Regions from separate parts of the Homo sapiens genome. Here region 1 is linked to region 2. The links are contacts of gene promoters, found by promoter capture Hi-C in human tissues and cell types (Jung and others, 2019). All regions are on one chromosome and are shown on one strand. Each heading gives the region's core, a stretch centred on a gene start or on the middle of the fragment in contact. The rest is flanking DNA. Distances are from core to core; before and after follow the strand shown. Region 1 overlaps LOC105376265 (a long non-coding RNA gene). Region 2 holds the start of CRB2 (crumbs cell polarity complex component 2).

Region 1 (4,944 bases), core at 1,314-3,813, 53 kb after region 2:
AAAGAAGGGAAGGGGAAGGGGAAAGGGAAAGGAAAAGGAAGGAAAGGAAAGGAAGAAAGAAATCTGGAAGGGGCTGTGTGGCTGGGAGTGTCTACTGTCACGCCTGCCCTCCCAGTGACTGTGTGGCCCAACAACCCTCATCCAGCACTTCACCCCCGGCTGCTCCTACAGCACCCCCCACCCAGCTCCTCAAACTCACTGCTCACAGGTGGGCAGGCTCCAGGACCCTCCCTCTCTGCTGCCCCATTTATCTTCCTTTCTCTACATCCTCCCAGCAGACTCAGCAGATCCTTTCCTAGCCCAAAGCAGCTTTGAAGAGCCATCGTGAGCCAATGGGCGGAGCTAATAGTCTCCTATCCTCGACTTGCAGGGGGTGAGTACAGCTCTCCCAAGGGACTGGGAGGGGCCTCTCCATCATTCCTCACTCAGCTTCTTGTTTTTTTGGTGGGGCGGGGGCCCTGGGGCAAGTTCCTTTTGCCCTCTGTGCTTCTGCTGCCTCATCTGTAGGTCAACAGTGACAGTAGCACCTACCTTGTAAGTGTCTGGGTAGATTAAACAAGCGTCACGTGTAAGGAAGTTAGCTCAGAGTCGGGCACATAGTTAGTTATTATTGTTGCTTATTCATTCAGCTGTTCTCATGCAGTCACTCACAGGACACCTTCTCTCTGCTGCTGCTAGGGGCACAATGAATCAGACAGAGACCTCACCCTTGCAGAGTTCGCAGTCCGGGAGGCAGGCAGACAAGACCACAGTTGCAAGGTGATAACAGCGGGTGGCTGTTGTGGGAGCCACTGCACAAAGTGATAAGAGAAGAAGGGTGAAGTGGGAGGATCGCTTGAGCCCAGGAAGTCAAGGCTGCAGTGAGCCAAGATCGTGCCACTGCACTCCAGCCTGACAACAGAATGAGACCCCGTCTCAAAAAAAATAATAATGATGATAAAATAAAATTTAAAAAGAGAGAGGAAGGGTGCTGGTGGGAGTCCATGGGAGAGAGGCCCTAACTCTTCTGGGGTGGTCAGGCGAAGCCTCCCAGAGGGAGAACGTTTAGCTGGGCCTCGAAGGAGGTGTAGGAGCTCACTGCTAGTGGAGAAGAGACCTGGAAGAGGGCAGTTCAGGGATGGAATAGCACAGCAAAGGCACAGAGGCTGGGAGAGTGGGGGCCTGTCTGATCCCCTCCCACTCATCTGGAGCCTGCCTATGGGGTCCTGCTGCAAGCATCTGTGACTCTCACACCACAGGTGTCCTTCAGCCTGAGCCAGGAGCAGGCCACAGGTGTAAACACCCCAGGAACTGCCCTGAGCCAGGTGAGTGGGAGACGGGAGGTAAATACTTCAGCATCCTTTACTTTCCAGGTGGGACAACTAGAAGTTGTGCTTTCTCCCATTTCCTAGAGGACCTCAGCAGGATGGAGCCGGAGGTGCTCAGAAAGGTGGCTACCCTCAAACGTACTCTGTGTTAGCGTCCACCTCCCAGATATGCCGTTTAGACCCCACCCTTTCCCCAGGGTCTGTTTCCTGGCAAACCTGTGAACCCGGCCTAACACGTCAAGCTCTATAAGCGTGAACTAGGCAGGTCAGTTGCCCAGAATCCTTCTGTGTTCCATCCTTCTGGCTACTGGATTCGTTTTTCTGGTAGTTACTGAGCATGCGTCCATGGCCAGCCCCAGATTAGACATTGAGGGAGATTCAAAGAAGTGGAGAAAATAGTCCCACAAGGGGCTATTGGAGGAGATGAGACATATCTGGGAAAAAGAGAAAATACGGAAAAAGCAAGAAAGGCGGAGTTCACTTGGGGAAGAATAAGAAGGTTGGTGCATGAGATCCTAGGGGATTGCCACAGAGAGAAGTGGGGAAGGGAAGCTGAAAGGACAAAGGGAGGGTCTCGCTCTGTCACCCTGGCTGGAGTGCAATGGCATGATCTCGGCCCACTGCAACCTCTGCCTCCCGGGTTCAAGTGATTCTCGTGCCTCAGCCTCCTGAGTAGCTGGGATTATAGGTGTGCGCCACCACGCCAGGCTAATTTTTGTATTTTTAGTAGAGATGGGGTTTCACCATATTGGCCAGGCTGGTCTCAAACTCCTGGACTCAAGTAATTCTCCTGCCTTGGCCTCCCAAAGTGCTGGGATTACAGGCATGAGCCACCGCACCTGGCCTGCGACTTCATTTGGACCCTGAGGCCTGGAGTGCCTCGTCTGAATGCTTCTCAGTGGGGAGCCGTGGAAGGGTTTTGGGACAGGAACAATCTGTGTGTTGAAAGGACACTTTGGGTTCAAATGGAGGATGACAGGACAGGGAGAGGCCCAAGTCAGGGAGGCCCAGGAGCAGACTGTTGGAGGAGTCTTGGCCAGGCCAGCTGTGACTCCAGCTCAGCCAGCCCAGGTTCCTCCAAGACCTCCCCCTCAGACTCTGGAGGGCCATCTTCTCATAAGTGCTCGGGACGCTTCCTGCCTTCCCACCCTTCCTTTCAGACCTGCTTCCTGCTTGGCCTCCAAGCCTATTCTTCCTCTTACCTTCTCCCATTATCTCTGACTTCAGAATGTTTGCTTTGGCTCCCACTGTCTCCCCTCTGCTCTCTCCTGCGGTTAGTGTTGGATACTCAGCAAAATCTCTCCTTCCTACAAGCCAGCGCAGACCCATCGGGGCAGGGATTGTCTTCTTTCTACTTTAAGTAAACGGAATTGGAGCAACCTTGGCCTTGGAAGACAGACTTTGTCTTCTAACGACTTTCCTTCAAAACCACAAATGCATTTTGTCTCGACTTGAGGTGGTTCTTGCCTCTCATCTCAGCAACCTCAGGGTGAGCGTGAAGCAGCCTCTGGCAGCCTGAAGATTTCACAGCGGATGCTGTGCTTTTGTGAAAAGTCGATTTCTCTGCAAACCAGCCGAGAGGGCAAAGATAGTGCAGTGCTCCTTCCATTCAACAGACGTCTATGAGCCAGGCCTTGAGCTGTGTTGTGGGGAGTCGCTGAATAAGGTGTCTGCTCTCCAGGCCCGCATGGGCTGATAGGGAAGATGAACAAGGAGACTGTCCACAGGAAAAGCTTGTACAAAGTACCCTGTGGTCTCAGTGGAGGTGCAATGCCGTCCACACTGACCTTGCATTTGCATGTGGCACCAGAGCTGTGCCACCTTGGGGAAGCTATTGAACCGCTCCCTGCCTCAGTTTCCTCACCTATGAAATAAGCATAATGAGGGTTCTTCTCTTCTAGGTTTGATGTGGGGATTACACAAGGCACATGGGAAGTGCTTAGCATGGAATCTGGAGAAGGAAATGCTCGCTATTCTCTCTTTTAAAAACATTCTCCCAGCACTTTGGAGGCGGAGGCGGGCAGATCGCTTGAGGTCAGGAGTTCAAGATCAGCCTGGCCAACATGGTGAAACCCTGTCTCTACTAAAATACAAAAATTAGCCGGGCGTGTTGGTGGGTGCCTGTAGTCCCAGCTACGCAGGAAACTAAGGCAGGAGAATCGCTTGAACCCGGGAGGCGGAAGTTGCAGTGAGCTGAGATCGCACCACTGCACGACAGCCCGGGTGACAGAGCAAGACTTTGTCTCAAAAACAAAAACAAACCATTCTCCTATCATTTAAATTCTTCCTTAAAGTGTACAATTCAGTGGTTTTTATTCTATTCATAAGGTTGTGCACCCATCATCACTATTTCCAGATCATTTTCAATACCCCAAAAGAAACCTTGTACCCATTAGCTGTCCCTTCCCCCAATTTCCCCTGCTCCTACTTTCTGTCTCTGTGGATTGGCCTATTCTGGCCAATCATAAAAATGGAATCATACAGTATGTGACCTTTCGTGCCTAGCTTCTGTTTTCAAGATTCTTCCATGTCATAACACTCATCAGTACTTCATTCTTTTTTATGGCTGAATAATATTCTATTATGTGGAAATACTGCATTTTGGTATCCGTTCATTGGTTGGTGGCTTTGGGTTATTTCCACTTTTTGACTACTGTGGATAACGCTGCTATGAACAGTCGTGTAAAAGTTTTTGTGTGAACATGTGTTTTCATTTCTGTTGGGTGTATACCTAGGAGTGCATCCGCTGGGCCATACAGGGATGCTATGTTTAACTTTTAGATGAACTGCCAGACTGTTTTCCAAAGTCACATACCTGCTTTTTTTTTTTTTTTTTTTTTTTTTTTTTTTTTTTTTTTTTGACAGGGTCTCACTCTGTTACCCAGGCTGGAGTGTGCAGTGGCACAATCACAGCTTACTGCAGCCTCAACTTCTTGGGTTCAAGCAATCCTCCAGCCTCAGTCTCCAGAGTGGCTGGGACTATAGGCGCACACCAACATGCCTGGCTAATTTTTGGTATTTTCTGTAGAGACAGGGTTTTGCCATGTTGTTCCAGCTGGTCTTGAACTTCTGAGTTCAAGAGATTCACCTGCCTTGGCCTCCCAAAGTGCTAGGATCGCAGCTACCGTGGCAGCTGACACCAGCTACTCTTGACTCTACTTCTCACAACACTTACCCACACACCAGTGCTCCACAGCCCCAACAGGAGCTGTTACAATGCCAAGACAGAAAGTGATGTACCTGAAGTCCCAGGCAAGTCAGTGGTAGACCAGGACTTGAGCCGAGAACTTTGGGGCCCAGATTCACCTTGCTGCCTTAGGCACCTGGATCTTTTTATTACACTCCAGATAGAGGAGATGTGGTATGAGCCATTGCCCCTGAGCATAGCAGCCCAGTGTCCAGCAGGTGAACAGAGAACACCCTGGCCTATCTGAGCCTCCCAGACACCAGAGGCCCTGAGTCCCCCTCCTCCACCTCTGTCAGCACACACAACCCCACATGGTCCCTGAGCCCCGGGACAAAGGACAATGGCAGATATGATCGAGAAATGGCTATGCTGTCCCAGATGGGTGGGTAGTGTTTCCGGGGTGGAGGGGAGCCCTGGGAAGCTGCCTTCCCAGCCTGCACTTCTCCTGCC
Region 2 (4,908 bases), core at 300-2,799:
TGTGCGGAGTGTGGGTGTGTGAGCATCACAGGGCAGGGGACAGAGCACCGATCCACAGACCGGGATCTCACGTGCTTTGTATGCAGAGAACAGAGAGGAGCAGCCACCCCGCCCCCCGCCACCATGCCCCACCCCTCTATGGAGCCCAAGTCGCCTGCCAGCAGAGCCCAGCTCATAAGTCCCCGTCCCTCTCTGAGCCTTGGTTTCCTTCACTGCAAAATGGGGTCCTCATCCTCCCTAGGGCCCCATAGAGAGGATAGGAAATGAAAGCTTTGTGAGTGCGGGAAACATGAGGGTCCCCAGGTGGGACTGGGAGACACTTGGCCCCCACACCCTACAGCCTGTGGAGCTCTGGGGCAGGGAGGGCTCCCCCAGCCTCAGGAGAGCCCAGGCCCTCCTTGGCTCCCTCCCCAGCCTGTGGTGGTGGGGGCAGGGGACTTCCCAGGCCCGGCCCCTGTAACTATAGTAACTAACACCAAGCGTTCCCTTGGACCCCCCAGGAGGAATTCCAGGCTCCGAGAGCTTGGACAAAAGCAAAAAGGGCTTGGCAAATGTGGTCTGGCTTCAGGGAGCCCTTTCAGATTGGCCTTGGAATGCTGGGGAGGGGGCAGCAGGGGACACACACATGTTCCCAAATCCCCAGCCACCCCACAGGGACCCAGAGCATCCCCAGCAGCCCTCAGCACAGGCAGGGCTACCGCACAAATGGAGGGGTGCGGGCAGGCACCCAGCTCCCTGAGTCTCCCTCACGCTTCTCCACTCAGTCCCGAGTTGGGGTCGGCTGTGCACATCCCACACCCCTCATGTTGAGAGCAAAGACCTAGTTCAACCCTGGACAACCTACACCCCACAGCGTGTGCTAGGACACAGCTCACCACACCCAACTCCTCGGACACAACTCACGGCTCACCCCAGACAGCTCATCCACCTCCCAACTCTAACACACCCACAACCTGTGCCCCACAACCCAGCATGCGACACAGAACAAGCTCTGGGGTGAGGCTTATGCCACCTGCAACTCCCCAAACTCAGCCCCTAGAAACCCAGAAGTCCCCCAGCCCTTTACAGGATGCAACACAGCACCTCCCAAAACACGCACCCCATCCCTCACCCGCATCAGCTCCCCCAAATCATGCCCAGCCCCCGATCCCCCAACCCCGAAACTTACAACCCCCCTCAACATGAAACAGCCCCGAGCCTCAGAACACACTCACCTCCGTGGAGCCCCACAGAGTCTGGGGGCCACAGCCGCGCACTCCTGTGCACCCCACAGCTCAGGCCTGCACCCACGCGGACCAGCCCACCCACCACCCCAGCAGCCAAGGCTTGGGGTATCTGTCTTGGGGGACAGACCCTCTCCCAGGCCCCTCCAGACATGGGCCCCAACTCACCAGCCAGGAGGGAAAGGGCAGGGGCCCAGAGCAGCAGTAGCAGGACAGAGGCCAGGGCCTGGGGGTCCGGGGTCCCAGGCCTGGCCAGCGCCATGGCAGCCCGCTCTGCGCTCTGCTCGGCTGCTGTGAGAACGGGAGGGCGGCCTGGCTGGCTCCGCACCCCCCTCGTCCCTCCAACCAGCACTAATGCTGTGGACAGAGGCCCAGCCCCTCCCTCCCCTCCCCGCCACCGCCTCCTCCTCCCACCCAGGCCTCCTGGGCTGCTCCACCTCGTGGACGTCCCTAGACATCAGCCCCAAGTCCTCAAGCCCCCTAGCCTGTGGGGCTGACCTGGTCTTGGCACCCACTGGTTTCTCCCTCCTGACCCTCTGCCCCACTCTCCTCCCACCTCTCAGGTCAGCCTCCTTGGAGAAATTTCTGTCCTTGGAGAGGGGGCTGTTCAGGACTCTCGTCTCACCAGGTGATGCCAGCTACTCCCAAGTCCTTAGTTATCCCCTCTCCTGGATCCCCCTCCCCACCTCTCCAGCCCGGGCCTCTCTCCCAAGCCCAGGCCTTCGAGTCCAGTCGCCTCCCAGACCCTGTCTCTGCTGGGAAGCTGCAGCCCCTCCCACCCAGCTCGTCCCCCCACCTGCTGCTCCCCAGTGCTCCCATCGGAGCCAAGGCACCTCCCATCGGGCAGCCCAACGCCCCCTCCCCACTCCCCCCTCCCCACACTCGGTCAGCCCCTAGCTCCTGGCCATGCCACCTTCTCAGTGTCTCCTGCTGTCCCCACCCCGTCCCACCCGACCACACACAGCTCCTCCCACCATCGGCCTCAGGATCAGCTCCCTGCAGGGCACCTCACCCCTGCACCACGGTGGTCCCTGCCTCCCTTTACCCTCTCCACCCTTCACCAGCCAAACTGAACCTTTCCCAGCTTTCTTCCACTTGACCTTGATCTCTGGCTCTGCTGTTTGCAACTCCAGCGACCTCACTGCAATCCAAAGCAGCCCATTCTACTGAAAGGCAGCTCTAACCAAGCAAGCATTGCTCTCCCCTGCCAGGAAGTCCTTCTTGTTGTCTAACCTTATAGTCTCCTGCTGCACTCGATGTTTGCTTGCTCTCCAGCTGGCCTCTTGTTGGGGTGGACAGGAGGAGCTCTTCAGGGGGACCTGGTTCAGGAAGCCAGGTCATCTCAGAGACACTACAACATAGAACAACATTCCTTTCTTCTACCACCCTCAGCCCCAGTGGGGAGAGAATCCTCTTGCTGAAGGGACTTTCCTGAAATGAGCCACCGGCCCCTGCCAATACATGCCTGTTTGTCCCTATTCAGTAACCGTGGATACAGCCCACGCAGGCCCTGGGCTCTGGGATGTGTCCCTGACACGGGAGGACACAGCCTGGAAAGACAGCAGGAGCCATTGAGGGAGGTCCAGATGAGCTAGAGGGATGGGCAAGGGTCCCCTGCAGTGCAGGGGAGGGAGCAGTGGGCACCACACAGGCCCTGGCCGACCCTCTAGCCCGGGGCAAGTGCCACAGCCCTGGGTCCCCAGGGACCAAAGGAGGGAACCCAAAAAGGCCTGGGTAGACTCCTTATCCACTGCCCCTGCCCCATCCCTGCCCTTGAGGCCTGTTCTCTCCAGGGCAGGGATTGCCCCTTGGTTTCTGGGACACTAACCTCTCTCAGTCCATCTTTAATCCCCTGCCTCTCCAATACAACAGGATCCCTCTCCCCAGGTGGGAGAAGCCCCTCTCCATGCCACAGGAAAAGCAGAGGCCTCACAGCGTAAGAGATCTGGGTTCGAGCCCAGCTCAGCCACTGATTAGCCGGTGACCTCAGCACGTGACTTCCTTCTCTGGGCCTCAGTCTCCTCACCTGTAAAATGGTGGCGTTAGTGAGCCAAGGCGACAGTGCCAGCTCTCTTTATCCAGCTTCTCAGTGATCCCCCAGAGACCCAGGCAATCCCAATGGGGGGCTGGGGGGAGCACGGCAAGTCAACCACCACCCTCTGGTTCTCTGGATGCACAGACACAAACTCCCACACTTTCACAGAGCGGGGAGGTCACCCGGCGCAGGTCCAGTCTCCTCTGCAGCCCGGCCCCCAGCACTGTCCTGCAGCCGCCACACTCCACCTTGTGGCCAGACCTGGAAGTGTCTTGTGAGGTCTGGAGGGTATGGAGGGGGGCTCCCCCGACAGCACCGGGTACAGGAGTCCCACGTGACGGGGAGGAAGCCAGGGAGTCGCTGGACAGCAGGCAGGACGGAGGTCAGACAAGGGCACACCATCTTGACCGCTCCCTGGTCCGGATCTGGAGAAGGCAGTAAGAGTGGGCCAGCTCCTCTGAGATGGTCCCCCAGGTGCATCCACTTCCCCTGTCCTCCCCACCTGGGAAGGGAATCGACATAACCTCAGTTTACCCCCCCCCCACCCACCAGCAGCACTGCAAAGTCAGCATTGGCCCCATTCTATGGATGAGGAAACCGAGGCACAGAGAGGTGAGCAGCCCAGCACCAGTGCCTGGCAGGATTCGAGTTGGGTCTGCCCGACTCCAGCCTTTCCACTGGTGAACCTCCGACTGCAGGTTACTAACTGCCCCTCCACTAGCCTGAGCATGACTTGCTGCCACCTCCCTGGCTGAGGGGACGCTGTCCTGGGCCGGGATTCCCACCAACTCTCAAGCTGATGGGCACATGCGACAGCAAGGTTCAGTGGTTGGGAGTCCCAGCTTTGGCATCAGGCAGACCTGGGTTTGAATCCGGTTCCTGCTCTCTGCCCTTAGGTGAGCTTTTGTTGGTCTGTTCCTTTTCTGCGTCTTAGTTCTCCCATCTGTAAATGGGATCATCACAGCATCTGCCTGAGAACATTGCAAGGACTGGGCGGCTGCTGTCAGAGCCTCGTCGTGGGAGGATAGTGACCCTCCCCACTGAGGAGCCCACCAGAAGGAACCCCTTCAGACCCTTCCAGGTGACTCCTGCTCTGGATCATTCCCCAGGGTCTCACATCTCCCTTCTCAGGGTCTCACTGGTTGTTCTGTTTGTCCCTACTCCCCACCCAGAGCCGCCCTTGCCCTGCTGGCACCTGTGGGCTGTGTCATGCTGGCTTCCTTCCATCTGCTTCCTGGAAAGGTGAGCCAGTGGGAGGCACAGGCCGGAGATGCCAGGGAGAGAGGAGATGGAGGTTGGGGTGTTTCTTCCCCTCCTTCTCCCTACATTGGGTATTGGGGTGAGAGTGACTGCAGCTCCAGCTGAGGCCCCTTCGGCTCTCACGGCCCAGGTCCCCCTGCTCCCTCTGTGTCTGAGTCTGGGGCCACCATCAGCCCTGACCTCACTGGGTTTCTCTAAGGCCTTCTCCATTGTCACCCATGCCCTCCTTCTTGGAACTCTGTCCCTGTGGGCTCCCCAACCCCTGCTACCCTGGTCTCTCTACCTTGTTAACCGTTCCTCACTCCTCCTCCCAGAATGTTGTGACCTGTCCGGGTCTGTCTCCAGCCCCCTGCCCTCCTCACTCCACATTCCTCCCTGGACAAGCGTGTC

What was found. The method cuts DNA at HindIII sites, captures the fragments that hold promoters and counts their contacts. A contact is called where the count stands out against the background at its distance.
Region 1: a fragment that was not itself captured here is called in contact with the fragment with the promoter of CRB2 in region 2 in 3 of the 25 tissues and cell types used here (adrenal gland, aorta and liver).

Annotation. Positions count from the first base shown.
Region 1 is chr9:123,300,643-123,305,586 of GRCh38, reverse strand. It overlaps LOC105376265 (a long non-coding RNA gene), which reads left to right. Exons shown (of 4, transcript XR_930331.3): 3 at 276-373; 4 at 679-762. Among named protein-coding and RNA genes, the nearest start is that of STRBP, 35 kb to the right of the region's middle. RefSeq lists an enhancer at 582-631. The HindIII fragment of the contact is 3,759 bases long and covers 684-4,442 here.
Region 2 is chr9:123,352,838-123,357,745 of GRCh38, reverse strand. It overlaps CRB2 (crumbs cell polarity complex component 2), which reads right to left and starts at 1,549. Exons shown (of 13, transcript NM_173689.7): 1 at 1,392-1,549. The coding sequence starts at 1,485. RefSeq lists enhancers at 3,249-3,418, 3,087-3,586 and silencers at 3,549-3,598, 3,619-3,728. The HindIII fragment of the contact is 16,000 bases long and covers 1-4,908 here.